Linked DNA regions of Homo sapiens: region 2 is linked to region 1. Evidence: promoter capture Hi-C in human tissues and cell types (Jung and others, 2019). All regions are on one chromosome and are shown on one strand. The core of a region is centred on a gene start or on the middle of the fragment in contact, and the rest is flanking DNA. Distances in the headings are between cores, read along the strand shown. Region 1 holds the start of PRDX3 (peroxiredoxin 3). Region 2 overlaps GRK5 (G protein-coupled receptor kinase 5).

Region 1 (7,719 bases), core at 3,655-6,154:
TTGCCCTACCTCTCTGCTTCTAGCCAGTGATGTGATTTTGGGAAGGTCTCTCCATCTCCAAAAGGCTCAGTTTTCTGAGCCTTTTAGATCTATTAAATCACTGGAGTAGACTACAGTATATAATGTTTTTAGTCCCTATTTCTTCTACATTTTCTCTCTCTCTTTTTTTTTTCTTTTCCTTTTTCTTTTTCTTTCTTTTTTTTTTTTTTTTTTTTTGAGACAGGGTTTTGCTATGTTGCCCAGGCTGGTCTCAAACCCCTGGGCACAAAGTGATCCTCCTACCTTGGCTTTCCAAAGCGCTGCAATTACAGGCATGAGCCACCATGCCTGGCCTTTTTCTAATTTTTTTTTTAATTGAGGTGAAATTCACCAAATATAAAATTAATTATTTTAAAGTTTACAATTCGGGGTATTTAGTTAATTCATAATGTTATACCCACCTCTATCTAGTTCCAAAACATTTTCATCACCACAAAAGAAAATCCTGGACTTCCCTCTCCCTCTCCCTCTCCCTACTCTCCCTCTCCCCACGGTCTCCCTCTGATGCCGAGCCGAAGCTGGACGGTACTGCTGCCATCTCGGCTCACTGCAACCTCCCTGCCTGATTCTCCTGCCTCAGCCTGCCGAGTGCCTGCGATTGCAGGCGCGCCGCCACGCCTGACTGGTTTTCGTATTTTTTTGGTGGAGATGGGGTTTCGCTGTGTTGGCTGGGCTGGCCTCCAGCTCCTAACCGCGAGTGATCCGCCAGCCTCGGCCTCCGGAGGTGCCGGGATTGCAGACGGTGTCTGGTTCACTCAGTGCTCAATGGTGCCCAGGCTGGAGTGCAGTGGCGTGATCTCGGCTCGCTACAACCTCCACCTCCCAGCCGCCTGCCTTGGCCTCCCAAAGTGCCCAGAGTGCAGCCTCTGCCCGGCCGCCACCCCGTCTAGGAAGTGAGGAGCGTCTCTGCCTGGCCGCCCATCATCTGGGATGTGAGGAGCCCCTCTGCCTGGCTGCCCAGTCTGGAAAGTGAGGAGCGTCTCTGCCCGGCCGCCATCCCATCTAGGAAGTGAGGAGCGCCTCTTCCCGGCCGCCATCCCATCTAGGAAGTGAGGAGCGTCTCTGCCCGGCCGCCCATCGTCTGAGATGTGGGGAGTGCCTTTGCCCCACCGCCCCGTCTGGGATGTGAGGAGTGCCTCTGCCCGGTCGCGACCCCGTCTGGGAGGTGAGGAGCGTCTCTGCCCAGCCACCCCATCTGAGAAGGGAGGAGACCCTCCGCCTGGCAACCGCCCCGTCTGAGAAGTGAGGAGACCCTCTGCCCGGCAGCCGCCCCGTCTGAGAAGTGAGGAGCGTCTCCGCCCGGCAGCCGCCCTGTCCGGGAGGGAGGTGGGGGGTCAGCCCCCCACCCGGCCAGCCGCCCCGTCCGGGAGGTGAGGGGCGCCTCTGCCCAGCTGCCCCTACTGGGAAGTGAGGAGCCCCTCTGCCCGGCCAGCCGCTCCGTCCGGGAGGGAGGTGGGGGGTTCAGCCCCCCCGCCCGGCCAGCTGCCCCGTCCGGGAGGGAGGTGGGGGGTCAGCCCCCCGCCCGGCCAGCCGCCCCATCTGGGAGGTGAGGGGCGCCTCTGCCCGGCCGCCCCTACTGGGAAGTGAGGAGCCCCTCTGCCCGGCCAGCCGCCCCTTCCGGGAGGGAGGTGGGAGGGTCAGCCCCCCACCTGGCCAGTCGCCCAGTCCGGGAGGGAGGTGGGGGGGGGTCAGCCCCCCGCCCGGCCAGCCGCCCCGTCCGGGAGGGAGGTGGGGGGGGTCAGCCCCCCGCCCAGCCAGCCGCCTCGTCCGGGAGGTGAGGGGCGCCTCTGCCCGGCTGCCCCTACTGGGAAGTGAGGAGCCCCTCTGCCCGGCCACCACCCCGTCTGGGAGGTGTGCCCAACAGCTCATTGAGAACGGGCCACGATGACAATGGTGGTTTTGTGGAATAGAAAGCGGGGAAAGGTGGGGAAAAGATTGAGAAATCGGATGGTTGCCGTGTCTGTGTGGAAAGAAGTACACATGGGAGAATTTTCATTTTGTTCTGTACTAAGAAAGATTCTTCTGCCTTGGGATCCTGTTGATCTGTGACCTTACCCCCCAACCCTGTGCTCTCTGAAACATGTGCTGTGTCCACTCAGGGTTAAATGGATTAAGGGCGGTGCAAGATGTGCTTTGTTAAACAGATGCTTGAAGGCAGCATGCTCGTTAAGAGTCATCACCACTCCCTAATCTCAAGTACCCAGGGACACAAACACTGCAGAAGGCCTCAGGGTCCTCTGCCTAGGAAAACCAGAGACCTTTGTTTACTTGTTTATCTGCTGACCTTCCCTCCACTATTGTCCTATGACCCTGCCAAATCCCTCTCTGTGAGAAACACCCAAGAATGATCAATAAAAATAAAATTAAAAAAAAAAAAAAAAGAAAATCCTGTACCTACTAAATAGTTCCGGCTGGGCGCACTGGCTCACACCTGTAATCCCAGCGCTGTGGGAGGCCAAGGCAGGCAGATCACTTGAGGTCAAGAGTTCGAGATCAGCCTGGCCAACATGGCGAAACTCCGTCTCTACTAAAAAATACAAAAAAAAATTAGCTGGGCATGGTGGTCACACCTGTAGTCCCAGCTACTCGGGAGACTGAGGCAGGAGGATTGCTTGAATCTGGGAGGCAGAGGTTGCAGTGAGCTGAGGTTGCAGTGAGCTGAGATTGCATCACTGTACTCCATCCTGGGCAACAGAGGGAGACTCTGTCTCAAAAATAAATAAATAAAATAAAAAATAAATAGTCAGTCCCCATGCCAGCTTCTCCCAGTCCCTAACAATTGCTGATTTGCTTTCTGTCCCTTTGGAATTACCTATTTTAGATGTTTCATATAAAAGGAAACACACACTATTTGTTCTTTTGTGTCTGGCTTCTTTCACTTAGCTAGTGTTTTCAAAGTTCATCTGTGTTGTAGCATATATCAGTATTTCATTCCTTTTATGGATAAATAATATTCCATTGTGAACTACAGTATTTTTTTTTTTTTTTTTGAGACGGAGTTTCAATCTTGTTGCTGAGGCTGGAGTGCACTGGTTCAATTTCGGCTCACTGCAACCTCTGCCTCCCAGGTTAAAGTGATTCTCCTGCCTCAGCCTCCCAAGTGGCTGAGATTACAGGTATGCACCACCATGCCCAGCTAATTTTGCAATTTTTAGTAGAGAAAGGGTTTCACCATGTTGGTCAGGCTGGTCTTGAACTCCTTACCTCAGGTGATCCACTCACCTCAGCTTCCCAAAGTGCTGGGATTACAGATGTGAGCCACTGCGCCCGGCCTACAGTACGATTTTGAGCTCCAAAATGATTGTCTCCTTTTCAATCATCTGCTAAACACAGACATAATTAAAACCAATTAAACAAACACAAGGAAGGTGTGAGGTGAAATAGTCGAAACGTGTGTCCCCACACATCCAAGGCAGTCCTTTCCACATCTGGGGACTGGTACCCAGGGTGGCGCCTAGTGGTACCTGAGATGATTTTAGAAAATATACTGGGCTGGGTGTGGTGGCTCACGCCTGTAATCCCAGCACTTTGGGAGGCCAAGGTGGGAGGATCACCTGATGTCAGGAGTTCAAGACCAGCCTAGCCAATATGGTGAAACCCCATCTCTACTAAAAATACTAAAAAAATTAGCCGGGTTTAGTGGTGCACGCCTGTAATCCCAGCTACTCGAGAGGCTGAGCCAGAAGAATCGCTCGAACCAAGGAGGTAGAGGTTGCAGTGAGCCGAGATTGTGCCACTGCACTCTAGCCTGGACGACAGAGTGAGACTCTGTCTCAAAAAAGAAAAGGAAAAAAAAAAAAGAAAGCCAATTTAAAGAAAATAGTAAGTGATATTTGGTGATAAGAAGACTTGAGAAACGAAGTTGCTAATTGAATGACTAGTGATTGGAAAATACCAACTCAGACCGGGTGCAGTGGCTCATGCCTATCATCCCAGCACTTTGGGAGGCCGAGGTGGGCGGATCACTTGAGGTCAGGAGTTTGAGACCAGCCTGGCCAACATGGTGAAACCCCATCTCTACTTAAAATACAAAAACTTAACTGGGCATGGTGGCAGGCGGCTGTAATCCCAGCTGCTCAGGAATCCCAATTACTCATGAAGCTCAGGCAGGAGAATCGCTTGAACCCGGGAGGCAGAGGTTGCAGTGAGCCAAGATCATGCCACTGCACTCCAGCCTGGGCGACAGAGCAAGACCCAGTCTCAAAAAAAAAAAAAAAGAAAAGAAAAGAAAAGAGAAAAGAAAATACCAGCTCCAAGACTGCAATTTGTCACACTTACTGTAAGGCCACGGTGTGATTTTTATCTATGTTTGATGTGGTTGCTTCAAGTACTATGCTCACCACTGAACACTTGGCTTCATTAATAGACAAAAACCAAATTTTAAATTTGTCCCAGTTTTCCCAATTTTGGGAAGAGAGGCCAAATGTTAGACCACACACAATTCCAGCGGATTTCAGGCCAACAAAGCCTTGATGTGTCTAGCCCACTTAGCTTATTAACGGACTAAAACTGCATTTGTAATTAATTCCATTTCATACAGAAGCCGGAAGTCTCTACCTGAGGCTGAAATAAGAAAGGGATCCTGTCACAGAAATACTAGACACAGTAATCCACACAAGGTTAACAAAACAGTGGGAAATATGGAAACAAATACCTAATGCCCCGCCTGGATTCGTTCTTTTAAGGTTGGGGCGACAGTAGGAAAACCACGTGTCACTTGCCCAAGCATTCAGCCTTAAAGGGAATTTCTCCCTCAGGGTCTCCAGGAGGCGGGGAGGCGGTGGCTCCTCCGGCCCCGCCCCCCCACCAGCAGAGGGCCCGCTCACCACCCCGTAGGCCCCGCCCCTGCGTCTCTGCCCGCCCCGTGGCGCCCGAGTGCACTGAAGATGGCGGCTGCTGTAGGACGGTTGCTCCGAGCGTCGGTGAGTGGCTGTCGGCTGGGGACAGGCGTGGAGACACTGGTGGCTCCGGGAACGTGCTTCTCAGACAGGACCCCGCGCTTCTGGGCATGAGGGCCATTCGCCCTTCTTGGAGGGTTTCCGCGGGTAACGGACCCAGAGGCCTCCCTCCGGGAAGGTTCCATGCGCCTGCGCAGAACCGCCCTTCCCCACTCCATCCTCGCGGTCTCTTCCCCGAGTCCCTCCTCTTTCGGCGTCCCCGGTCCCCAGGCCCATCTCCACTTAAGGTCCTGGCCCTGATTCTGCCACCGACCCTGTGATCTTGGGCAAGCGCCTTCGCCTTTCTCAGACTGTGTACTTAAGATGGAAAGAATGATGCCTACATCAAGGCGTTGCTGTGAACAGCCCCTTAAATACTGGATAAAAACGCGCAAAGTGCTAAAAAACTCACAAAGGCTTTCCCTCCCAATCCCACTCCCGCGTGTTTCTGCTGCTGTTTCCTGCTTAACTGTGGGCAATGCGTCGTGCTCTTTTGGTACACGGCTTTCTCTGGTGGGGTTCAACACAGCCCCTTTCGTTCTCCTGAGTCATTTTGAACATTAAAGTTGAGCAAACCGGCAGAGTGCGGTGGCTCACGCCTGTAATCCTAGCACTTTGGGAGGCCGAGGCGGGCAGATCACTTGAGCCCAGGAGTTTGAGACCAGCCTGGACAATAATAGTGAGACCTTGTCTCTAAAAAAAAAAATAGCCGGGCATGGTGGTCAGTGCTCCTGGGGAGGCTAAGGTGGGAGGATCACTTGAGCCCAGGAGGTCGAGACTGCAGCGAGCCGAGATCGCGCCACTGCACTCTAGCCTGGGTAAAAGAGCGAGACTCTGTTTCAAAAAAAAAAAAAAAAAGTTGAGTAAACATGTCCCTTGAGCCTTTAACAGACTCCCAGAGGCTGAATTTGGCTCTTCTTGTTTACTTGTCGCTGGTGCTGGAGGGGCCTTGTTTTTCTAAGGAAAACCTTGAAATGGTAGAACATACTCAGCAGATAGTGCTGGGAAAAGCCTGCACAAGTCCCCTGGCTTCTGAACCCTGTGTTGCTTTAAGCGCATGGAGTTTCTGATTTTTTTTTTTTTTTTTTTTGAGACGGAGTTGTCGCCCAGGTTAGAGTGCAATGGCGCGATCTCGGCTCTGCAACCTCTGCCTCCCGGGTTCAAGCAATTCTCCTGCCTCAGCCTCCCAAGCAGCTGGAATTACAGGTGCCCGCCACCGCCGCCTGGCTAAGTTTTGTGTTTTTAGTAGAGATGGAGTTTCACCATCTTGGCCAGGCTGGTCTCGAACTCCTGACCTGGTGATCAACCCGTCTTGGCCTCCCAAAGTGCTGGGATTACAGGTGTGAGCAACCGCGCCCAGCCGGTCTTTGTGTTCTTATAGTTCCTCTCCACCTTCCAGTCTCCTAGGAGAAGGAAGCAGAAGGGAGTGTTAAGAACATGCAGATCCAATCCATGCTCTTAGAGTTTGGGGTTTGCTATTTGGTTCACAGGAACAGGGACAGCTGAAACCACCGTTGGCACGATGCCCTTTCAGCCTTCAGTCACCAGTCCAGGAAAACTTTCTAATAAAAAGTTTCTCTTTCCAGGTTGCCCGACATGTGAGTGCCATTCCTTGGGGCATTTCTGCCACTGCAGCCCTCAGGCCTGCTGCATGTGGAAGAACGAGCTTGACAAATTTATTGTGTTCTGGTTCCAGTCAAGCAAAATTATTCAGCACCAGTAAGTGTTATGTCATGTCTTGGCTGGAGCCAGGTAAAGGAAAAATGAACCATCGTCTCTGGACAGGGGCTCTGAACCCTGGCCAAACGTTAGAGTCACCTGGGAGCTTTCAGGAACACAGCACTGCCCCCGTCCCACCCCAGACAAGTTAGTCTGTGGGGTGAGACCAGGATGTGCCGGGTGATTCTAACGTGCAGCCAGGGTTGAGAATCACTGAGGCAAACTGCCCTTGTCACATTTCCATGTTGGTTGTCAGAGTTTCTAATCCACTGTGTTGAGGAGGGTGTTACTGGGAGCTCAGATGCCTTCTGAGTCTAGTGTGTCTGAAGAGCTGTGAGTGGTGGGCAGCCTGTGGGGGACCTGAGAGGGCAGCTGCTCTAAGATTCAAACCTGTGTAATGGCCCCAGCTGGCCACTTAGGAACCAGACCTGTCTAATGGTATCTGTAATCTGAGCGAAATTTAGCTGTTTCTTGAGATTTACACTCCCTTCTCTAGGATATGGGCTTTGCTAAGATCAGCCTCAGATAATGAGTGGTATTTGAAAATACCTTGTCTAGATTTGACTAGCCTTTGAAAAAGCCCGTATTTAATATGTAATGGTTTGTGGGGATATACTTTAGTAAAGCCTTTGTTTGTGGGCAAAATGTTCTAAGAGCTTTCGCAATTTTACTACCCTGGAGCTTCAAAATATTTCTAGTAGTGATGTGATACCACAGGCTTAAAACTTTACTCCACTGGTTTCGAATCCTCATCCCCAGCAGCGCCTCCTGTTTCTGTTCATGGCGGTGTCAGGCATTTTGACATTGGAACTACTCTGTCGCTCATTCCTGGGTAGAAGCAAGTCCTTTTCAGTTTTGACACATCTCTTGCATCCATTCCTTTCTGTTCTTTCTGCCCCATACCTCCCCTCAATACGTCTAAGATCACTGAAATCGAGGCTGGGCACAGTGGCTCACACCTGTAATCCCAGCACTTTGAGAGGCCAAGGCAGGCGAATTACTTGAGGTCAGGAGTTCAAGACCA
Region 2 (7,719 bases), core at 2,757-5,256, 100 kb before region 1:
GGCTTGGAGGGGTGCAGGTTAGGGGACGAGGTGGGAATGGGGTGTGGATTCATTTTCACAGAAGCCTCAAAGTCAAATACTTCATCTCATCTCCAAATGTGACCATGTTGAGCTGCAGGGCTGGAGGACACTCCCGTCCCATCACAGGTCCACCCAGACTGAGCACACTATGAATTAATATTTCCTATAAATCCTAGCATTACCTTGTGACTAGACTAATTATATTGCTATGTTGTTTTTGGTTTAAAAAAAAAACACCATCCTGACAAAGGTTACCAGTTTAAAATACCATAATATTAATATTTATAGCTTTCTTAGGGCATTTTAATTGTTTTAATGAACTGGAAGCCTCAAAACAAAACCAAAAAACTGAAAGCAGGCCAGGCCCCTTATCAGCTCTGAAAGGCCCTGAGATGTGCCCCAACTCTGCAGCAGGACCAGGCCCCAGTGACACAGTAACTCAGGGCCTAGAGGAGGGACTGGATGGGCCAGCAGCCTGGAGAACTCCACAGCATCAACTGGGCGACTGTCACTCCTCCGGCCTCACCTAGTCCTGCTTTCTCACAAGGCCTCACCTTTAAGACAAGACATTCATGTTGGGCAGGAGAAAGCGCTCAAGAGCTTCTAGAAGCCTCCCGGAAGCCTCTGGGGCCCCCGCCAACCCTGGACTCTCCTGACAACTCCTGGGATCTCACCTCCACTCCAGGTAGTTCTGTGCCCAGCTGCTGACCACCAGAGCAGGAAGCTGTCACAGACCACCGGGGCCAACCCTTCAGGCTCTGGGGAGAAACCTGGACCCACAGGGGGCCTTGATCCATCTGCTCGATAGTCCATCTGCCCATGAGCCCATCCAGGGCCGCAGCACACGCCTCTCCTGCCCCAGCCGGAACCCGACCCTGGTCTAGGAGCTGAGGACACAGCAGTGCAGACACATCAGGTTGGTGAGGGAGACAGACAAGGAAAACAGACTGTTACAAGACAGCCTGGTGAGACGGGCTGCCAAGGAAAGGGGGAAAACTAGCAGGGGGAACAGCAGCACTGGGGCCAGAGAAGTGTCTCCCATCCCAGCAAGAGACAGCTCTGCTGCAGTCTGGAGCTCCAGGAGGAACTGGCCTGGTGAAGACCTGGGAGAATGGTCCAGGCTCAGAGAAAGGTTTGTGCAAATCTAGACTGTGAAAGAGACAGCCCAGTGCTCACTCACGATACTAAAGTAATTTAGGGCCCCAAAATGTGAGTGGGGGGAGGAGCAAGTGAAGTCAGTGGTTTGGAGAGTGCAGCTTGGGTCCGAACTCAAGGAAGAGGTGCTGTGTGAAAAGGCAAATCACAGCAGGGCACACTGGCATGGGGAGATCACACAGAAAGCGACAGTGGCCAGCAGAGCAAGAGACGCAGACCAAGGAGGGGAGGGCAAGGGACAGATGCCCAGGAGGGAGGTCACCAATGGCAATGAGAAACAGGATAGGCTCAACAGATGTCTCCAGGATTTCTGCTTGGGTGACAGGCCACTCAGGCTGTTGTCTGTGCAATGAGATCACGTCTTAGAAATAAGAGATTTAGTCTTTACCGAATCCATCTACAAAGCTAAGTAGCAGCCTGGTTCTCCATCACTGGTTCACAGCAGGGACATTCAGCCAGCTTCTCAGCCACCTCGGGGGATCGGATGACTTGATGGCCTGGCTCGGGGATGGCAGTGCTCAAGGGCACGCTTCCAAATGGGCAGGGGCCCAAGAGAAGAGGCGGCCAACCACCACCCCGGGAACCCAGGGCAACCTGCCAGCTTCAAAGGCTCAGCCGTGCTAAGACCCGAGGTCGGCCAGATCCCTCCCTGTGAAGAAGATGCCACCACAGGAGAGGCTGATTACAGAACAGTGGCTCAAATACAGGCTGTGTGGTCACAAGCATCCGCATACAAGCACCAGGGGTGAGCCGTGCACAGACATGGCCAAAATGAACGAGCCATCACCACTTCTGGGTGCTCGACACCTAATGGGAGCTCAAGAGCAGGGGAGAGGAACAGGAGAGCTCGGGGCAGAGACTGCCAACCCAGGGTAGTTAGTAAAGTAGGGTTAGGGGGGTCCCTGGCCAGACCCACAAGAACTGCTTTGGGAGCAGCCGGGAGGAGCAATTTTTTCCCAAGGAGGCAGTGAAGGCAGCATGTGCAGAGTCCCTGAGAGGAAGGTGAAGAGGTGTCCATGTGAGCAGAATGACCCAGCCCAAGCATGGAGGCAGCACATGGTGGCAAATCCATCTAGATGGAGAAGATCCTTGTGCTGGGGACAGAGTGAGAAAAGTCCTGAAAGCAATGGGCCGGCCCTGAGGCTTTACCCTGCAGAAAACGGGAAATCAGATGGGCGTGGTGGTTCATGCCTGTAATCCCAGTACTTTGGGAGGCCAAGGCGTGTGGATCATGAGGTCAGCAGTCTGAGACCAGCCTGACTAAAATGATGAAACCCCGTCTCTACTAAAAATACAAAAATTAGCTGGGCGTGGTGGCGCACGCCTGTAATCCCAGCTACTCAGGAGGGTGAGGAAGGAGAATTGCTTGAACCCGGGAGGCAGAGGTTGCAGTGAGCTGGGATTGGGCCACGGCACTCTGGCCTGGGTGACAGAGTGAGACTCTGTCTCAAAAAAAAAAAAAAAAGAAAAGGAGGGAGGGAGGGAAGGAAGGAAGGAAGGAAACAGGAAGTCATTGCCTCCAAAGCATTCTGGGAGAAAAATAATTTGGCAGTGCCTCAAAAAATTAAACACGGAATTACCATAGCATCTAGCAATTCCAATTCTAGGTATAGTCCCAAGAGAAGTGAAAACAAGGACTGGAACAGGTACTTATACACCAATATATTTCCATGCTGAGACCCCTAAAATAACAATAAAAGAATAAAACAGGTATCAACTATCCTACAAAGGCTGAGAGATGGGAGGACGAATGACAGCTGACCAGAGCCATCAGAACCACCTATGGAGGATGGCAGAGGGATGGATGGGTGGGCGCTGGCCTTGCTGGCTGGAGAGCCGACATTCACGTTCCTGCAGGTATTAAAACCAACAAGAAAAACTCCATTTGTGAGCTTGAGGCAACAAGTGTGACAGTGCACAGGCTCAGAGAATTGATTCCGTGTGTGTTACGGCACTAACTTTTTGTCACCATGGCCTCAGGACACTCAGACAAAGCATGTTTGGGATAATCCATTACTAAGCATAATTTGTCCCTGGACCAATTTTTGTTAAGTTGCTTTCCCCCTTTCCTGCAGCTGTTCTGCACGGCCAGGGAGAAGCCTCCAGAGATAAGGGTACTAAGGCCTCCAACTCCCTGGGCACAGAGCAGGGGACTTCCTGATGCTTATAGGTATAGCCCCAATACCACAGTTCTCTTGTATTCAGGGCTCTTCCCATTCTGGCCCCAGTGCAATACTCTGGGCACTGGGTTTGTAGGGTTCCTGAGGCAGGAATTCAAGGATGAAAAGAGCCAGTGTAGCCAGGTTGTAGGCATCATGCGCCCTCCTCCTCCACCACCACCCCACCCTCCAGCATGTGCAAACCAGGCGATAACTTCTCCAGAGACACAACAGAGACTTCACACTTTCCCAAAGCTGCTCTACTTTTCACATGATCCCCTAGAGAATGGAGTAGGCTCCTCGAGGGAGAGCACTCACTAGAACACCAGGCAGTTACTGGCACGCACATCAGTGCTGCTGCGTGGCTCTTCTTGCCCTGCAGCGTGGCTCTTCTTGCCCTGCAGCGTTGGAGCTGGCCTCGGCCACAAAGTGCCAGAGGGCTGCAGGCCACCGCCACTCACTCCTTGAGAACCACGGCACGTTTTGAAGGACACACCATCAACAGGAATGAGGAGCCCTTGCTGCTGTCACTGGAGTCAAGTTGGTCTTAACCATCCACTCCCACCCCCCTAGTAGCACCGAGCCCTCCTCCTTCCATCTTCTTTCATCAGAAAACTGGATCTTCCCACTTTCTCTCCCCCAGGATGCTGAGCTGCACAAGGGGAAGAACTATCCAGCTCATCTTTCTATCATAAGCACTGCACTCAGGGCTCAGCACCTGTGATAAGCAGAATTGTATGCCCCCAAATTCCTGTGTTGAAGTTCTAACCCCCAGCACCTCAGAACATGACTGTATTTGGAGAAATTTGAGGATAAGGCCTTTAAAGAGGAGATCATGCAAAAATGAGGCCATTCATTAGGCTGGGCCCCAGCCCAGTGTGACTGATATCTTTATAAAAGAGGTCAGGGGCCAGGCGCAGTGGCTCACGCCTGTAATCCCAGCACTTTGGGAGGCCAAGGCGGGTGGATCACGAGGTCAGGAGATCGAGACCATCCTGGCTAACATGGTGAAACCCCGTCTCTACTAAAAAAAATACAAAAAATTAGCTTGGCATGGTGGCACACGCCTGTAATCCCAGCTACTCGGGAGACAGAGGTGGGAGAATTGCTTGAACCCAGGAGTGAGAGGTTGCAGTGAGCCAAGACTGCACCACTGCACTCCAGCCTGGGCAACAGAGCGAGACTCCGTCTTGAAGAAAAAAGAAGAGGTCAGGACACAGAAAGACACCGGGGTGCAGGTGCATACAGGAAGGACCATGTGGGCTCAGAGCAAGGGGGCGGCCATCTCCTAGCCAAGGAGGGAGGGCTCCAGGGACCCCAATCCTGCTGGCACCTAGGCCTTGAACTTCCAGCCTCCAGACTGGGAGAAAATAACGTCTCATTGTTAAAGCCCCCAGCAAATGAATACAGAACCTAGGAAGGGGCAATGAATGAGTGATAGGTGGAAGGGCTAAGAAGAAAAGAGGAGGGAGAGGAAAGAGACGTGCTCAGATCTGTCTCTTCTGGACATCCGATCCCAGGCTGTCTCTTCAGTGGGCCCAAGTCCAACTAGCAGTCAGCTCAGAAATGATCCCTGAGGCATCGAAGCTTTCACAAGGAGGCCACAAAAGTCGGCTGCCTCTTTAAGACCTCCCTGTGGGACACAGCGACATTGGATAAGGGACTCGCCACACAGCTTGCCAGCCCTACAGAGAGTCAACGCATCTGCCATGGCTTCCCGAAGGCAGTTATGGAGAGAAAGAACTTGAGTGTTCCCCTTCTGCTTGTCCAGCACCCCAAGCAGAGGGGCGGCCTGCAGTGAGGTGCCAAGGCCAAGCTAGCCCTGAGAGAACAGGTGGAGACGGGCACATAGGAGCCATCGCTCAGGGCCATTAGACCGTCTCGGGAAGGGAGAGGCCACAGGAGAATTGGGGAAGCTTATCTAAAAACAACGATTCCTTGTCCCAAAGAATAACCACTTTGGAAAACAGGTTGTCAATTTCTGGAAAAGTTAAACCTATACCTACCATATGATCCAGATGTTCCTAAGTATTTACTCAAGAGAAAAGGAAATCTCTGTCCATAGAGAGACTAGAAACAACCCACCTGCGCAAACAGTTGAGTGGGTAAACAAACTGTGGTCTATCGATACAGTGGGTCACTACTCAATAAGAAAAAGGAATGAACTACTGATACGCCAACAGTGTAGATGAATCTCAAAATCTTCATGCTGAGTAAGTAAAGGCACATGAGAAAGGGTACTTGCTATATGATTCCATCTATAGACAAATCCAGAAAATACAAGCAAATCCAGAAAATACAAGCGAATCCAGAGCGACAGAAAGCAAGAACAGTGGCTGCTTAGGGTTCAGGGGACAGGAAGGGATGACAGGGCAGGATTATAAAGGGGCATGAGTAAACTTTCAGCAGTGATGGATAACTTGTTTGTGGTATGTAGATTCACACGGGTATGGATATATCCTAACTTCTCAAATCATATTCTTTAAATATGTGTGGCTTACTGTCTGTCAATTACACTCAATAAAGTGGTTTTGAAAGAGTACGGATTCCTGGGTCCCAGCCTGGAGAGTCAAGGTCTGTTGTGGCAGGGGTGTCGCAGAGAGCAGAAGAGGGGGAGAGGGGTGTAGCCTCCACTGGCACCCTGGAGCAGGTACAGAATGCATGCAGAGATCATGCCTCAACATCAACAATTATTCCTCCTGGGAAACTACAGACATCGTTATTTTTATTTTGACATCAGGAAACCCCTTCGCGTCCTCCACAACTAGTTTGGAGAGCCACTGGGAAGCAAGAAGTTCACGCAGTCAGCCAGGTGTTGGGTGCCTCCACCCAGCATGGTGGTCTGTGGGCTCTCTTGGGGGTCTGGCCGAAATGATCAAGGTGTCGGCACCCGACACACAAGGTGCGGCAGCACCCAGCAAGAGAATCCCAATCAGCCAACCTTCTGGATCCATGACCCACTGATGCTGCACTTGAAGACATGGAGGTTAAAGATTTGTTCACCAAATTAGGCTAAAACGTGGTCACATGATTCAGAGGTTTGGCCAAGGCATCGGATTTTCCCAAATCACAAAGGCAATGCATGGATATAGGGATATATTAACTTCATGTGCCAATATAAATTGGTACAGAAGTGATGTGTAACGTAATAATAATTGATCATGGTACGACCCTTGTGAACTGCAGGAAGCTATTCCTCTTTCACACAAGAGCCCTAGAGGAGAAGTTAAGACTTGAGTTCAGGTCCCGCTGTGGCAGGACTCCCAAAAGTCCATCCCCGCTTTGACTTTGACAGTTGAATTCCAACTTCTTGGAGTTTTCTACCTTACCCTCCCAGCTGTGTTGCTAAAATGTCAAAGGCAGCTTCAAGAAAACCAAAAACACTCTCTGATTTCACTTTTAAAACGTCAGTGTGGCAATTCCTAAGGGATCTAGAACTAGAAATACCATTTGACCCAGCCATCCCATTACTGGGTATATACCCAAAAGACTATAAATCATGCTGCTATAAAGACACATGCACACGTATGTTTATTGCGGCACTATTCACAATAGCAAAGACTTGGAACCAACCCAAATGTCCAACAATGATAGACTGGATTAAGAAAATGTGGCACATATACACCATGGAACACTATGCAGCCATAAAAAATGATGAGTTCATGTCCTTTGTAGGGACATGGATGAAATTGGAAATCATCATTCTCAGTAAACTATAGCAAGGACAAAAAACCAAACACCACGTGTTCTCATTCATAGGTGGGAATTGAACAATGAGAACACATAGACACAGGAAGGGGACTGTTGTGGGGTGGGAGGAGGGGGGAGGGATAGCATTAGGAGATATATCTAATGCTAAATGACGAGTTAATGGGTGCAGCACACCAGCATGGCACATGTATACATATGTAACTAACCTGCACATTGTGCACATGTACCCTAAAACTTAAAGTGTAATAAAAAAAAGAAAAACTCACCATTTACAACAGAGTCTGAGCTGCATGCCTTTACAATCAAAACCCAGCGTATCCCAGCTCTGAGGTATGAAACTTTAATCTGGCAAACAGAGGAGGAAGGACACTGAGACCTCCTTCAAACCCAAATGAGGGGGATTCTCAAAACCTCCTGAGGAGCTAGCACAGCTATGGAAAATCGGGTCACTGTCTGTGTTTGCAGTATTGCTTAGCGAGACGGTCCCCAAACTCCTGCGGCCCTCCCTTTCCTCACTGATGTTGAATTCGGAACACTAAGCGCATAACACTCATTTTTACACATGCTCAGCCCTCCCCTTCCTCCAAACGCTGCATTTTTCTTCCAATGAGTAATTTCTGAATGCCTTCCAAACGCACCCATCTAATTTTTTGGAGTCTCATTGGGGTCATCA

Evidence for each region. The method cuts DNA at HindIII sites, captures the fragments that hold promoters and counts their contacts. A contact is called where the count stands out against the background at its distance.
Region 2: a contact is called between a fragment that was not itself captured here and the fragment with the promoter of PRDX3 in region 1, in 2 of the 25 tissues and cell types used here (liver and spleen).

The regions. Positions count from the first base shown.
Region 1 is chr10:119,175,997-119,183,715 of GRCh38, reverse strand. PRDX3 (peroxiredoxin 3) reads left to right here and starts at 4,904. Exons shown (of 7, transcript NM_006793.5): 1 at 4,904-4,961; 2 at 6,563-6,695. The coding sequence starts at 4,926. RefSeq lists enhancers at 98-843, 4,902-5,381, 5,381-6,025 and a silencer at 4,762-4,871. The HindIII fragment of the contact is 15,713 bases long and covers 1-7,719 here.
Region 2 is chr10:119,275,704-119,283,422 of GRCh38, reverse strand. All of the region lies in intron 1 of GRK5 (G protein-coupled receptor kinase 5), which reads right to left. Among named protein-coding and RNA genes, the nearest start is that of GRK5-AS1, 60 kb to the left of the region's middle. RefSeq lists an enhancer at 1,829-2,329. The HindIII fragment of the contact is 6,532 bases long and covers 741-7,272 here.